3 separate regions of the Homo sapiens genome follow, and regions 2 and 3 are each linked to region 1. The links are contacts of gene promoters, found by promoter capture Hi-C in blood cells and fetal thymus (Javierre and others, 2016). All regions are on one chromosome and are shown on one strand. The core of a region is centred on a gene start or on the middle of the fragment in contact, and the rest is flanking DNA. Distances in the headings are between cores, read along the strand shown. Region 1 holds the start of MIOX (myo-inositol oxygenase). Region 2 overlaps MOV10L1 (Mov10 like RNA helicase 1). Region 3 overlaps MOV10L1 (Mov10 like RNA helicase 1).

Region 1 (4,947 bases), core at 288-2,787:
GGATGACAGAGCAAGACTCCGTTTCAAAAAAAAAAAACCTCCTCTCTTCCTTCACACCTTCCTCTGAATCCCACCCGGTCCCACCTCCTGAACCTATCCAGACACCTTCTCCTGACCCAGGCACCACCTGCTTTCGGGGCGATGGCCGTAGCCTCCTCCCAGGCACCTGTCTGCATCCCTCTGGCCAGTGCATGCTGAGCACGTGACCTACCCGTGTTGGGACACGTGAGGATACAGCCTTGACCCCCAGGGGCTGACATTCTAGGGGGAGATAGAAGGAGACAAACGTAGAAGGTAGAATAAGTGGGTGGTGGAGTGGCAGGGAGTGCTGAGTGCCACAGGAAGTCAGACAAGGAAGGAGAGTGTGGGGCAGGTGCCGTTTAAATGGGGGGCGCTGGGGTCTCCTCACAGTTGCTTCTCAGCTCAGCTGTGCCAGGATCTTGTTGAGTCAGGTCAGCTGCCCACAGCCCTCTTGCCTGACCCCTGAAGCCCAGAACTCTGATCTTCACAGCCCTAGGTATGGCCCCAGCACCCCACTGCCCTCTCTCCTGCCCCAGCCGACTGCTGTTCCCAGACTTCCCTGGCCACGCTCCAAGACGCCAGCTCTGCCGCGGGCACTTTGTTCTCACGGTGTCCTCCATGCCTGCAGGGCCCATGCATGGGAAGTTGCGTTGGCGGCCTGGGTGTTGGCGGTTCCGTGCCTGCTCCAACTCTCCGTGAGGCCCCTCTCCCAGAGCCTGACACACTCTGTGGCCGAACTCTAGGCAGGTGCCCCTGAGTCCTTTCCTCGACGAGGCCTGACCCCATCCCCATCCTCGCTGGGCCCGCCGACCCCGGTGTTAGCAAGAATCCTCTAAATCAGTTTATGGAGAATTACCCACCCTCGATATCTGATCCCATTCCTCATCTCCCACCCTTGATCTCATCACCCTGCCGGCCTCCTGCAAGATCCTCATTGAGCCACTCCAGTGAGAATCCCCCTACCCTCGAAGGCCGCCCTAACAACTTCCCATCCGCTGACCCCTCCAACGCCATCAATCTCCAGCTGTGGTTGTTGAACTCGGAGGTGAGCTCCTCTCACCACTCTCTTGAATAAAGCTTTTCTCACCATTTTAACAAGTCCTCAGAATCATCTTTTCTTAACAAGCTCCTGCCCCACCCAGAATCACGGGGGGCCTGGGGACAAGTTTTCACCTCCTGAGATCCAGTGGGGCAGCCGGGGAAGGGGTGGTGCAGAGGGGGCGTGTGCTTGAGGGTGGGGTCTTGGGTCTGCCCCTACTTGTGGGACCCCACAGAGGGGTCTAAGGCCAGGGCCCAAGTGGGAGGCTGGGCCCACAGATAACCCTAGGCAGGTCAGCGGCTCGGGACAGGAGTGTGAGGCTGAGTCAGGGCCAGAGGATGTGGGACTGCTGGGGGCTGCTGCTGTGCTGACACATTAACTCCCTGAGGCCGGGAGGAGGGTGGATGGTCATTTATTACTGCGGACACTTATGTAACCTGGGGTGTATATAGGAGCCTGGCTGAGGACACACTCGCCAGCCTGTGCTTTGCCACCTGAGCGCCGCTCCCTCTCAGGATGAAGGTGACGGTGGTGAGTACCCAGACCCCATGCAGAGAGGCTCTGCTGACTGCTCTCCTGGTGGCCAGCCACTCCCGCCCTCTTCTAGCTGGCACTGGCCAGCCCTCCTCCTCCGTCCAGCTGGGCAAGAGCCAGCGGCTGCCGACCCCCAGGCTCCCTGTGGACTCAGTCTCCTCCCAAAGCCACTTCCACCCCTCAAGGGTGGCCATGGGTGCCGCTCAGGCGTGGTGTCCCCTGTACCCCGGAAGCAGACGTCTGCTGACTTTCGCTTTGCAGATGAGGACCTGGGAGTGAGAGCTCCTGGGACTCGCTGAGGCCAGGGCAGGGGCTGGGATGATGGCGTGGGAGAGGCTGTGTCCTCGCGTGTCACCCACCAGCCCTCGAGCAGAGGCAGGCTTGGAGTCTGCAGCCACCCTGGGAATGTCTGTGCTTCCTCGTGGAGCTGACATGATGGTGAAATAGGTTCAATCCTCCACCTACCCAGGGCCCAGACCCTTCCCTGGTCTACCGACCTGATGTGGACCCAGAGGTGGCCAAAGACAAGGCCAGCTTCCGGAACTACACGGTGAGTACCTTGCCGTCCTGCCCCCCTTCTCCCCCATCCACACCCTGGGGAGCAGCACTTGCCCTTCACACAGTTCCAGGGGGTGCCCTGTGGGAACTCCCACCCCCATCACACCCTGTGGGGCTGCCTGGGAGAGGGGAGGCATGGGGCCTCGTGTGCAGGGTGGGGGTGGCGCCACTGACCCTCCGGCCTGCAGTCAGGTCCCCTCCTGGACCGTGTCTTCACCACCTACAAGCTCATGCACACGCACCAGACAGTGGACTTCGTCAGGAGCAAGGTAGGCGTTTCCTGCCGCCCCGTGCAAACGCGGAGGGACCCTTGCCCTCAGCCCCATGAGCCCACCAGGCGCCGAGGGGATGGAGAGGCCTGTGTGGTGGGCCTGCTGACCCTGGGCCACACTGCCTTCTCCTTCCCCGCCAGCATGCCCAGTTTGGGGGCTTCTCCTACAAGAAAATGACAGTCATGGAGGCCGTGGACCTGCTGGATGGGCTGGTGGATGAGTCGGACCCGGACGTAGATTTCCCCAACTCCTTCCATGCCTTCCAGACAGCGGAGGGCATCCGGAAGGCCCACCCAGACAAGGGTGAGCCCTGGCTGTGCTGCAGGGGGGCAGGTGCTGCCTCCAAGGGGCAGAATGCAGCAGCCTGTAGGGTGGGAGGGGACAGTAGTGGGCCCAGGCCTCCTCCAGCAGCCCTGCCTGGGTTGGGGAGCAGGCCCTGGACCCTTCCTGGCTCTCAGCCCCGCAAACCTGCTCATCCTCTGCCTTGGCCCCTGCAGTCCCCAACCTGCCCTGTCCATCCCCCTCCCAGACTGGTTCCACCTCGTCGGGCTCCTGCACGACCTGGGGAAGGTCCTGGCCCTGTTCGGGGAGCCCCAGGTAAGAGTTGGAAGTGGAGGGTGAGGAGGCTGCATGTTGAGGCAAGGTGGGGGTGGAGTGGCCTTGGTGCTTGGCCTGGGATACTACCTGGGGGACAGGCCAGTGCACCCCCCACGGCCCCCCGACGGCTGCCTGTCCCTCTGGTGGCCTCGGTGCTTGGCCTGGGATACTACCTGGGGGACAGGCCAGTGCACCCCCCACGGCCCCCCCCACGGCTGCCTGTCCCTCTGGTGGCCTCGGTGCTTGGCCTGGGATACTACCTGGGGGACAGGCCAGTGCACCCCCCACGGCCTCCCCGCACCACTCCCCCCACGGCCCCCCATGGCCGCCTGTCCCTCCTGTCACTCTGCAGTGGGCGGTCGTCGGCGACACCTTCCCCCACTTCCCCCACGGCCCCCCATGGCTGCCTGTCCCTCCTGTCCCTCCTGTCCCTCCCATCCCTCCCGTCCCTCCTGTCCCTCCCGTCCCTCCCATCCCTCCTGTCCCTCTGCAGTGGGCAGTCATCGGCAACATCTTCCCCCACTCCCCCCATGGCCGCCCGTCCCTCCTGTCCCTCTGCAGTGGGCAGTCATCGGTGACACCTTCCCCCACTCCCCCCATGGCCGCCCGTCCCTCCTGTCCTTCTGCAGTGGGTGGTCATCGGCGACACCTTCCCCCACTCCCCCCATGGCCTCCCGTCCCTCCTGTCCCTCTGCAGTGGGCTGTCGTCGGCGACACCTTCCCCGTCGGATGCCGTCCGCAGGCCTCCGTGGTTTTCTGCGACTCCACCTTCCAGGACAACCCTGACCTCCAGGATCCTCGATACAGGTGCTCCCTGCTGCTGAGGGCTGGGCCCCCTTCCCTGGGCGGCTGCTGAGCCCTCCTCACCCTGGTATCTCACTGCAGCACAGAGCTCGGGATGTATCAGCCCCACTGTGGGCTCGACAGGGTCCTCATGTCCTGGGGCCATGATGGTGAGGCCAGAGGCGGGCAGTGGGGCGGTGGGGGGCGGTGGGGGACGGTGGGGGGCGGTGGGGCAGAGGCAGTGCCTGCTGGTGACACCCTCTCCCCACAGAGTACATGTACCAGGTGATGAAGTTTAACAAGTTCTCACTGCCCCCTGAGGTAGGTGGGGGGAGGGGCAACGCAGCCCGTCCACCAGGCCCGGTCCTGCAGCCCCAAGTGAGCCGCTGGGTGGCCTTGCCCGCAGGCTTTCTACATGATCCGGTTCCACTCCTTCTACCCCTGGCACACGGGCCGCGACTACCAGCAGCTGTGCAGCCAGCAGGACCTGGCCATGCTGCCCTGGGTGCGGGAGTTCAAGTACGCCCCGCTACCCGCCGAGGGGTGTTGTGGGAGTGAAAGAGGGGGTTGGGTGGGGGGCCTGGGGGTTCTTCACGGGGCTCACCGCCCCTCCCTGCTGCAGCAAGTTCGACCTCTACACCAAGTGCCCGGACCTGCCGGACGTGGACAAGCTGCGGCCCTACTACCAGGGGCTCATTGACAAGTACTGCCCTGGCATCCTGAGCTGGTGACCCTCCTGCCACCCAAGCTGCTGCTGGACCTAGGCCTGGCCCTCCGCCTGCCTGGAGAGGCCTGGCCCTGGGCAAACAGCCGCCATCAGGGTTCACCTCGGTGGGGGACCCCACTCACCCCCTTAGGGTCGCCACCCCTCACGGCAACTTGTGCCTGGCGTCAATAAAGACCTGGAAGGATGTTGTGCTTCTGAAGCCCCACTGGGTGTTACTGCAGCAGGGCGTGGCCCAGGCCGAGGGATGGTGCCAGCAGGGTGGAGGCCAAGTCCCAGGCTTTCAGGTGTGTGTGTCCCACCACACTGGCCGTGGTAAACATCTGCCCATCCTCCCAGCTCCTGTGTCAGAGCCTGGGGGACGAGTCACCCAGCTCACCCCCACATGCTCAAAACAGTCACCAAGTCCTCTGGGCTCC
Region 2 (4,947 bases), core at 1,159-3,658, 340 kb before region 1:
ACATTCCTCTTTTATTTAATCCCCAAACGTCTTGTTACTTTTTAAGTAGTTTTGTTTTGTTGGTTTGGTGTTTTTTGTTTTGTTTTGTTTTTTTTTTTTGAGACGGAGTCTCGCTGTGTCGCCCAGGCTGAAGTGCAGTGGCATGATCTCGGCTCACTGCAAGCTCCGCCTCCCAGGTTCACACCATTCTCTGGCCTCAGCCTCCCAAGTAGCTGGGACTACAGGCACCCGCCACTGCGCCCGGCTAATTTTTTGTATTTTTAGTAGAGACGGAGTTTCACCGTGTTAGCCAGGATGGTCTCGATCTCCTGACCTCATGATCTGCCCGCCTCGGCCTCCCAAAGTGCTGGGATTACAGGCGTGAGCCACCGTGCCCGGCCTGGTTTGGTTTTAAGTATTCCTTTAAGTTGCTGGTTTGGTTATAGAGCGAAGTATTGCTTTTATTTTTTTGTTTGTTTGAGACAGAGTTTTTGCTCTTGTTGCCCAGGCTGGAGTGCAGTGGTGTGATCTTGGCTAACTGCAACCTCCGCCTCCCGGGTTCAAGCAATTCTCCTGCCTCAGCCTCCTAAGTACCTAGGATTACAGGTGTGTGCCACCACATCCAGCTAATTTTGTATTTTTAGTAGAGACAGGGTTTCACCATGTTGGTCAGGCTGGTCACGAACTCCTGATCTCAAGTGATCCACCCGCCTCTGCCTCCCAAAGTGTTGAGATTACAGGCTTTAGCCACTGTGCCCAGCCTGAAATATTGCGTTTAAAAAAGACATTGAAAATAGCTGGGCGTGGTGGCATGCGCCTGTAATCCCAGCTACTCCGGAGGCCGAAGCAGGAGAATCACTTGAACCTGGGAGGCAGAGGTTGCAGTGAGCCGAGATTGCACCATTGCACTCCAGCCTGGGCGACAGAGCAAGAGCAAGACTCCCTCTCTAAATAAACAAACAAACAAACTGAATAGAAAATGTACAAAGTTGTTTTGGGGAAGGGTCTGCAGGATTATGTGTTATATTTGTGGCTCTAGAGTTGATAAAACATGGACTGAATTGATAAGGAAGTATGAGATATTTTGAGAAAAAAACCTTAAATCATGACTTAGACGTAACTAAGAAGTGGTACCAGGGCAAGGTTCCCTTTTGGAATTCTGCTTAATAATTGGAGGAGTAAACTAACTCTACGCCTCCTTGCCCCCAGATAGTTATTGACGCCGTCAAACCGTATTGCAGAGACGGAGAAGACATCTGGAAAGCCTCACGCTTCCGGATAATCATCACCACATGCAGCAGCTCAGGGCTGTTTTACCAAATAGGAGTGAGGTGAGCCCCGGGCATGGAGCGCGGCATGGGGCCTCCCAGGGCAGAGGTCGGAGTCCTCTCCTAGCTTCTGTCTGAGGGGCGGATGACCCAGAGACTCAGTGCTCAGGGAGGGAGGCAGGGCTGTGGGCGAGAAAGGCTGGTTGGGGAGGGCCGTGCCTGAATGGAGCTGGGGAAGCCGAGACCCCAAGGACTCGAAGGAGCCAGCAGTGGGATGGGCAGGCAGATGGACTGGCCCATGCAGAGGCCCCGCGGTGGGGGAGCACTGAGGTCTCCCCAAAGGAGACTGTAGAGCCAGAGCCTCGTGAGCAGGAACGGCCTGAAAGGGGTGGTGAGGGGGAGGCCTGGCGGGCTGTGGAGGGGCCTTTGGACGACCTCTGGTGAGCCGGGAAGCCAGTGAAGGGCTTCTGAGCAGGAGAGTGAGTCTCTTGGAGTGGGCGTGGGGAGGCAGGCTGCCTAGGAAACGGCTGGGCTCTGTAAGGTCAGACCCTGGGGGCCATTTGTGTCCCTGGCGCTGGGGGCTCTTCAGGGGAGACAGGCGGAGGAGATGGATTGTGGGGTGCCGGCTGTCATAGGAGGACCTCCCCTGGGGGCTGGGAGGAAGAGCTTCGAGCCCAGGGAGGCTGAGTGAGGACCAAGGCACTCTCAGACCCCAGTGCAGGGGGGTGGGGTCGGGGAGGCAGCAGGCAGCTCCCTCTCAGTGCATAGAGCCAGACAGTGTCGGGGGCACAGGCTGAGGGTGAGAGAGGGAGAAGCCAGGGCCTCTGAGGGAAGCCCCACCCTCCCTGACGGCCTGGAGACAGGTCGCTCTGAACAGTGTCCAGCGTCACAGTGGTCGTGACCCTCCCTGACAGCCTGGAGACAGGTCACCCTGGACAGTGTCCAGCGTCACGGTGGTCGTGAGGGTGACCACAGGAGGTGGTCCGTCAGCTCCACATGGAGCAAAGGCACAGCCAGCCACGCCTATCACAGCGTGTCACGGATGGTTTCATCGGCGCGTTTAACTCTCTCACATACATGATGTCCTTTCATCATGAGATTAGTAGAACGTGATTGATGAGACACTTTACATTTTTTTTGGTTCAAGTCTTCAAAATCCACCATGTATTTTACACTTAGAGCATGTCAGGTTTCAGACTAGCCACTGTGCGGTGCCCGAGAGCCGTGTGTGGCTACCGGATTGGACAGCACGGATCTGAACAAGACAGGGATTTTTTTTGTTAATGTGTGTTGATGAGTCAAAGGTCAAGAGCCGAAGAGCCAGTCCTCACTGGGGTGCAGAGGGCTCTTTGGGGGCAGAGCGGGCACTGCATGGACCCTGCACCCTGGAGCTGATGTTCAGGTAGTGGGAGGAGGTGGCCGGCCAGGGCAGGCCGCTCTCTCAGAGGCACTCTGTGCAGAAGCAGGGAGGGTGCTGCAGGCCGCTCTCTCAGAGGCGCTCTGTGCAGAAGCAGGGAGGGTGCTGCAGGCCGCTCTCTCAGAGGCGCTCTGTGCAGAAGCAGGGAGGGTGCTGCAGGCCGCTCTCTCAGAGGCGCTCTGTGCAGAAGCAGGGAGGGTGCTGCAGGCCGCTCTCTCAGAGGCGCTCTGTGCAGAAGCAGGGAGGGTGCTGCAGGCCGCTCTCTCAGAGGCGCTCTGTGCAGAAGCAGGGAGGGTGCTGCAGGCCGCTCTCTCAGAGGCGCTCTGTGCAGAAGCAGGGAGGGTGCTGCAGGCCGCTCTCTCAGAGGCGCTCTGTGCAGAAGCAGGGAGGGTGCTGCAGGCCGCTCTCTCAGAGGCGCTCTGTGCAGAAGCAGGGAGGGTGCTGCAGCCCAGCTGCAGAGGCCCCACAGCGTTAGTTGGCCACTGGGGGCGGCTGGAGTGGGGAGGGGCACTTCAAAGGGCAAAGAAGTAGCAATGTCATCTGGCAAAAGTGACATTAAATAACTGCAATTAATACAGAATTGAAACCTAAATACTTACATTCTAGGAAAGATACATAATGTTAATTTTTTTCAACAGAAATAGGGACATGAGATGGGGAAATGGCAGTTTGCTGATTTCCACATCTTTCACTGGGAGGGGTTCACGGTGTCACTTGTGAAATCCGTGTCTTGAGAGTTACACATTGATACCTGAAGTGAAAGGTGTCAGCTGACCGTGAGTGGATGCAGGACATGTTGGGCCCAGCACTGCTGTAAGCAGGAGCCCGCCCCCGCACAGGTCTGACCACAGGGTCTCACCCCACAGTGGGACACCTGAGGCTCAGAGGTGATGGATTTGCCCAGCATCTAGGGTTGGAGAGGGGAGATCCTGGAATCAGCAGTGAGAAGGGTAAACGTGGGCTCGGCAGTGAGGACGGTGCGGGCCCAAGGTGCGTCCTGTTGAGTGTTGGCGTGGCTCCGGACACTCTCTCTGCCCCATACCTGCTTCCTCAGGCATCAGGACATGTTTCTGCCCCAAGAGCATTTCCCCACTGAGGCCTCCTGACCACAGAGCAGAAGCTGCTGGGGTGGGCGAGCCAGGGAAGCCGGGGCACCTGTTCCTCAGCTCATGGCCCCAGGTGGGGTGGCCCCTCTGCACTCTAGAAACAGATCATGTGCCGAGCGAGCTCCTGCTCTCCGCTCAGTCCCACAGCCTTCCCATGCAAGAGTTCCGCAGCTTCTCCTGACGACTCCTTCCCGCAAAATCCCCACCCCGTCCATCAGCAACGCTGTGGACTCTCTGCTCCTGCACCTCCCTTACCTCCCTTGTCACACGGAGAAGGAAGAGCCGGACAGGTACCCGCCAGGAGGGCTGCTCTGTAGCTGGGAACCTCACTGAGTTTGCAGCAGGGGCCAGAATTGTGGGGAGCCATTCTAGAGACCGCATTTTCTTTTTTTCTTTTTTTTTTTTTTTTATGAGATGGAGTCTTGCTCTGTCACCCAAGCTGGAGTGCAGTGGCGCGATCTCAGCTCACTGCAAGCTCCGCCTCCCAGGTTCACGCCATTCTCCTGCCTCAGCTTCCCGAGTAGCTGGGACTACAGGCGCCCGCCACCACACCCGGCTAATTTTTTTGTATTTTGAGTAGAGACGGGGTTTCACCGTGTTAGCCAGGATGGTCTTGATCTCCTGACCTCGTGATCCACCCATCTCGGCCTCCCAAAGTGCTGGCATTACAGGCGTGAGCCACTGCGCCCGACCAACCCCATTTTCTTAATGGTGCCGCAGATTGGGAAGTGGCTCCCAGGGCCTCAGCCTATTGGCATGCAGGCCAGGCAGTGCCCAGCTGAGAGTGGCTCACAAGGATGAGTCAGGAGGAAATGAGCGGATGGCAGGAGAGGCTGCCATCTGTGGCCGCCTGCATGGCCAGGCCTGTTCTCAGCGCTTTACAGCGGCCAGTTCAGCTGCTCTCACCTCAGCCACCTCCCGAGAGACACGTGGGAGGTGGAGGCTCAGAGAGGGGAAGTCAGGACTAGAGCCTGGGCATTTTGATAATGACAGGAGTGAGACGCAGGTGGAGAGCAGGCCAGGAGCCTGCGGCGCTTCTCCTGTGAGCTGCCCCCAGGAGGCGCTCGTGTGTTGCCCATCGCTCCCACCCCTTCTTCCCTCCACATCTCTAGAAATACAGACGCTGCGTGCAAAGCACTGGGTGCTGATGTGGCTTAGCATCTCCTGACACCTGTGG
Region 3 (4,947 bases), core at 958-3,457, 320 kb before region 1:
CGAGTGAGTTTTCAGGCACTGGGTGGGCTGTGATCACTTAAGGAGGGAGGGTCCGGGTCACTCGGGGTGAGACGTACGAGGCACCAGGAGACATGGGGCCTTCACTTGCTCTCACACCAGGCTAATTGTTATTGCCAACAGGACCCCTGTTTTGGTGCTTTGCTGGAATACAGTATTACAAACGGTGTTTACATGGGATGCGATTTACCTCCTGCACTGCAGTCTCTGCAAAAGTGAGCGCTTCTGCTGTCTTCCTCAAAGACAGGCTGGCTCTAGAACGTGCTCTAGCCTGCCCTCCCCTGCTCCCCTCACCCCCATCCACTTACCCACCTGCAGCCTTAGCCCTCTGCCGGCCACCGTCCTCACCTCATCCTGGGCTGCAGCAGCCACTGTTTCCTGGACATTTGGGGTCATGTCACCTTTCCCACATAGGCTAACAGGGTAAACTAAGTCCCCTTGTAAAACCCACATTGGGAAAAGAGTGCAGCTCCCAGCCCGCTGTGGGAGCCTGGCTCACTGGCCATCCGCTTCTCCTCTGTCTACAGCTGTGGCGAGGGGGTGGCAGACCCCTCCTACCCAGTGGTGCCAGAATCCACAGGACCAGAGAAGCATCAGGAGCCCAGCTGATCTGCAGTGGCTGACAGCAGGGAGGCCATGTGCTCAGCCTGGCCACGTTGCCGTTACAGTCTGCTCCGTGGCTCCTGTGGCCTGCCCTTGTCTCGCAGCCAGGCAGGGTCGTGTGTGGGTGTGGGGCTGCCAGGTTGGACGCAGCTGCTGCTGCCCTGACTTTGGCATATGCCAGCCTGTTCCTGCCACAGGGCAGTCACTGCCGCCTACCCTGAAATAAACCCTCGAGTGACCCCCAGAAGCCTTTCCACCTCGAGATGTGTGCCCGTGTCAGTGGTGACCAGGGTTTCATGTGGCCTCTCAGCCCTGCTGGCGCAGTTTTTGGAGATGGCTTGCTGTCCACTTCACCTGAACTAGCCGTGTGTCAGGCTCCAGGCAAGGCTGCCAGCTCCACTCAGCAGAGCGCCAGGGCCATGGACCAGGCATGCAGAGCCCACAGGGCCTGAGGCTCTACATGGGGCCAGGGTTGTGAGGGTGGCACTCAGGCCTGCCCTAGGCCCAGTGCTTCTGGGAGTTTGCAGCTGGGCGGGTTCCTGGGTGCAGGCCTGCACCCTAGGGGTACTGAGTTTAGGGGTCCTTAGAACACATCTCTGGGCCAGAAATAAAACACGTGGAGATGGGCAACGCACCTCAGGCCAGGAGGAGCAGAGCAGTGGCAGGAAGAACACTTGGGGTGAGCCCCGCACTGTCCTCAGCCTGGTGCAGGGTCTCAGTACAGCAGCCCGGCTGGAACACAGGACCCCCAGGCTCGGAGATGCCGCCTGCATACACCCAGGGCCCCAGAGGAGGCCAACACCGCTTTACGGGGGGTCTTACCTGGCCTATGCCCCCATCCCCACAGCGAGACACAGACCAGCAGCCGACTAGAAGGGTGCAGGCTTGGCCCACCTCAAAGTTTGGGAGCCTTGCCCTGCACCCTCCCCCACCCCCTCCCCCACGACTTGCTCCCAGGAAACAAATGCTCAGTGTCTCCACTTAGAGGTAGCGTCTGCTTGGCAAGCAGAAACCACTGTCTCCTGAAGGTCTCAAGACACCAGGGATCATGTCTGTTTACTAAACTTGTGGGTGATGCTAAGATCTGTGGTCACAACTCCAGGGAGTACTTGATGTAGGAGGAAGCACTTTCCAGACAGGCGGCGTCATGTCAGGGCCCAGGACTGCATGCGGCATCACCTGCTGTGGCTTCTGCATGAGTTGTGTTTAGGAACTGAAGGGTTTCTCCAGGCAGAGCTGTCATTGCTGTGCTAAGGGGTGCGTGGAGGCCCAGGCAGAGCCCCCATGCGTGGAGGCCGCTGTGCCCAGTGCTCCTGCAGCCAGCGTTTGCTGGACTCTCTCTGCAGAGCAGAAGTCCTAGGGCAAGGACCTCTCCATCCTGTCAACCCCAAATCGAAGGGATGCCCCCCACGGAGGCTGGGGACTTTTCTGACCCAGGTGAGGGGATCATTGGGGTCAGCCCTGACACTGAGAGGCCACCTCTCTGGGCTCAGTGACCTGGATGTCCTGGCAGGTGGGAGAGACGCAAGAAGCAGGTGTGGGGTCCACACTTGAGGGAGTGCTCTTGGGCAGAGACGTGGGGAGCCAGTGTTGAGGCTGGGCAGGTGTCCTCAGCTGGGGGACACCTCAGCAATGATCTGGCGTGTGCCCAGGGTGGCAGGAGACCAGGCGGGGTCATTCTATAAAGGACTCGGGGCACCTGTTTGCTGGTGCAAGAGTGGCAGGGAGGCTGTCAGGTGACAGGGAGGGAGGGGAAGAGAAGGAGGTCAGTGAGGAGGCTGCCCTGGAGGGGCCCAGGCTACAGGGAAGGCAGCACTGCTCAGCCAGCCATGAATCCCTGCAAAGCAAGGCAAGGGAAGCAAAGGCAAGTGGGGCCTGCAGGCAGGTGTCGTCTGCACAGGATTTGGGGCTTTTTTTAAGACAGGGTCTTGCTCTGTTGCCCAGGCTGGAGTGCAGTGGCACAATCATGGCTCACTGCGTCCTCAACCTCCCAGCCTCAGGTGATCCTCCCACCTCAGCCTCCCAAATAGCTGACACTACAGGTGTACGCCATCACACCTGGCTAATTTTCTGTAGAGACAGGGTTTCGCCATGTTGCCCAGGTTGGTCTCGATTTCCTGGGCTCAAGTGTTCCACCCACCTCAACCTCCCAAGTAGTTGAGATCACAGGCGTGTGCCACCACAGCTGGCTAATTTGTTTATTATTATTTGTAGAGACGGTCTTGCTATGTTGGCCAGGCTGCTACACAGAGGTCTTAAACTTTGGTGCTTGGAGTCCCCTAAATGAAACCTTAAGGGAGTGCATCTCTTCCCTCGTTTTTTTGGTTATCTAAGATTTTTCTTCTTCACATTTTAAACGTGCTTATGATGTAAGTCACAGCTTATTATAAATCTTGCCATTTCATTTATTTTTATTTTATTTTATTTTTTTTTTTATTTATTTTTTTTTTTTTTGAGACAGAGTCTTGCTCTGTCGCCCAGGCTGGAGTGCAGTGGTGCGATCTCGGCTCACTGCAAGCTCCACCTCCCGGGTTCACACCATTCTCCTGCCTCAGCCTCCCGAGTAGCTGGGACTACAGGCGCCTGCCACAACGCCCGGCTAATTTTTTGTATTTTTAGTAGAGACGGGGTTTCACCGTGTTAGCCAGGATGGTCTCCATCTCCTGACCTGGTGATCCACCTGCCTCGGCCTCCCAAAGTGCTGGGGTTACAGGCATGAGCCACCACGCCCGGCCCAAATCTTGCCATTTTCCTTTTCAGTGTATCCAGTGCAACAAAAAATGCCATTACAGTTTGATACCATCATCCACTTAGAGGACACCAGCAAGCTGTTCTTTCACAGCTAGAAAGTTTATTTCTTCTTTTCCTTGAACTCATATTTCTATTCCACTCCCCCCCATATTTGTATCCTAATGCAAAATGTGTTAGGTTTGAAAGGTGTGGGCATCACAAATATTTTCTGTTCCTCTCCTGGGCACAGAACGGGATTTCACCCCCACCTCCCTCACCACCACAGGTGTGTAAAGCCAGTGACATCGCTGATGCGAAGGCTCTGAAGGCAGAGGGCAGCTCACCCCCCACTCCCCACCGGACACCGGGGGCGAGGGCCGCCACGTGTCAGGCTGAGGATGGCGGGACAGAGCCCCCAGTCTCCCTGTGAGCAGTGTGTGGGGCCAAACAACCTGGGCTGTTGTTGACGTCTATTACTGTGGCATGGTCTGGCCTGTCCCTACCAAACACCAGTCTCAGCGCACCCTGACAAAATACAAGCACTGAGGCTTAACATGGGAACAATCTGGCCGATTGTTATTCTTACGATTATTATAAATACCCAATCAAAATGATACGCATACATTTCCAATTTTCATAATAAACAAAAATAAAATTGAGCTAGAAATGCTTTTTTTTTTTTGAGATGGAGTTTCATTCTGTCGCCCAGGCTGGAGGGCAGTGGTGCAATCTTGGCTCACTGCAACCTCCGCCTCCTGGATTCAAGCGATTCCCCTGCCTCAGCCTCCTGAGTAGCTGGGATTACAGGCATATGCCACCATGCCTGGCTAATTTTTGTATTTTTAGTCGAGACGTGGTTTCATCATGTTGGCCAGGCTGGTCTTGAACTCCTGACCTCAAGTGATCTGCCCACCTCAGCCTCCCAAAGTGCTGGGATTATAGGCGTGAGCCACCACACCTGGCCAGAAATGCATTATTATCCGTATGGGGCTTATTTGCAAATAGTTAATGTCATCATGGGAAGATATTACTTAGGGCGGAAATGAGACAGGTTGTCAGTTTTTTTTCCTGTTTTTCATCTTCATGGATATAGAAGCTCAGAAAGCTTGTTCGCTTAAAGAGAGAGATGGGAATACAAGCTTTGCACAGCACGCATCGTCTTCAAGATCCTTCCATGTGTTGAAATCTCATGTTAATGTATCACCAAGAGAAAGAAGCAGCTGCTCCCATAATACGGGATTTGGGAAGACTGTCCTCCAGTCTGGGCCACTGGAGTGTGAAGACCGCAGGGGTGGACCCTTCACTCCTGCCACACATCCTCCTGAGGAGGGTAACAGGCTGGGCGGCCAGGGTGTCATCATGGACCTTTGCTCACCGTTCCACTCACCGGGAATGAGGATGGCAGCCAAGTTGCCGAGTTTTGAGTCCAGGCCCTGGCTCTGCCACAGGCGTTCTTCTTGTCAAGCTCCCACCGCTTCCTCTGCGAGACAGTGACTGGCCAGTGGTGCTCAACAGGCAGGCAAGATCACACCCACTCATAACCATCGTTGTTCACTGAAAAGGTGCTGTGGCCCAGATGCTGCCCCAGGCAGGGGC

The links. Contacts are between HindIII fragments. The CHiCAGO score rates a contact against its expected background, and 5 or more counts as called.
Region 2: a contact is called between a fragment that was not itself captured here and the fragment with the promoter of MIOX in region 1, in 5 of 17 cell types (fetal thymus, M0 macrophages, M1 macrophages and 2 more). The highest score is 7.6, in fetal thymus.
Region 3: a fragment that was not itself captured here is called in contact with the fragment with the promoter of MIOX in region 1 in 2 of 17 cell types (fetal thymus and naive CD4 T cells); the score reaches 5.3 in fetal thymus.

Annotation. Positions count from the first base shown.
Region 1 is chr22:50,485,322-50,490,268 of GRCh38, forward strand. MIOX (myo-inositol oxygenase) reads left to right here and starts at 1,538. Exons shown (of 10, transcript NM_017584.6): 1 at 1,538-1,591; 2 at 2,064-2,144; 3 at 2,341-2,421; 4 at 2,565-2,727; 5 at 2,954-3,021; 6 at 3,719-3,828; 7 at 3,907-3,974; 8 at 4,076-4,125; 9 at 4,211-4,323; 10 at 4,427-4,947. The coding sequence starts at 1,577. The coding sequence ends at 4,535. It overlaps ADM2 (adrenomedullin 2), which reads left to right. Exons shown (of 3, transcript NM_001253845.2): 3 at 1-1,116. The HindIII fragment of the contact is 4,673 bases long and covers 1,097-4,947 here.
Region 2 is chr22:50,144,501-50,149,447 of GRCh38, forward strand. It overlaps MOV10L1 (Mov10 like RNA helicase 1), which reads left to right. Exons shown (of 27, transcript NM_018995.3): 19 at 1,189-1,310. Among named protein-coding and RNA genes, the nearest start is that of PANX2, 24 kb to the right of the region's middle. The HindIII fragment of the contact is 7,030 bases long and covers 1-4,947 here.
Region 3 is chr22:50,160,823-50,165,769 of GRCh38, forward strand. MOV10L1 (Mov10 like RNA helicase 1) reads left to right here. Exons shown (of 27, transcript NM_018995.3): 25 at 1-3; 26 at 142-233; 27 at 546-865. The coding sequence ends at 627. Among named protein-coding and RNA genes, the nearest start is that of PANX2, 7.4 kb to the right of the region's middle. RefSeq lists an enhancer at 4,866-4,947. The HindIII fragment of the contact is 4,494 bases long and covers 1-4,454 here.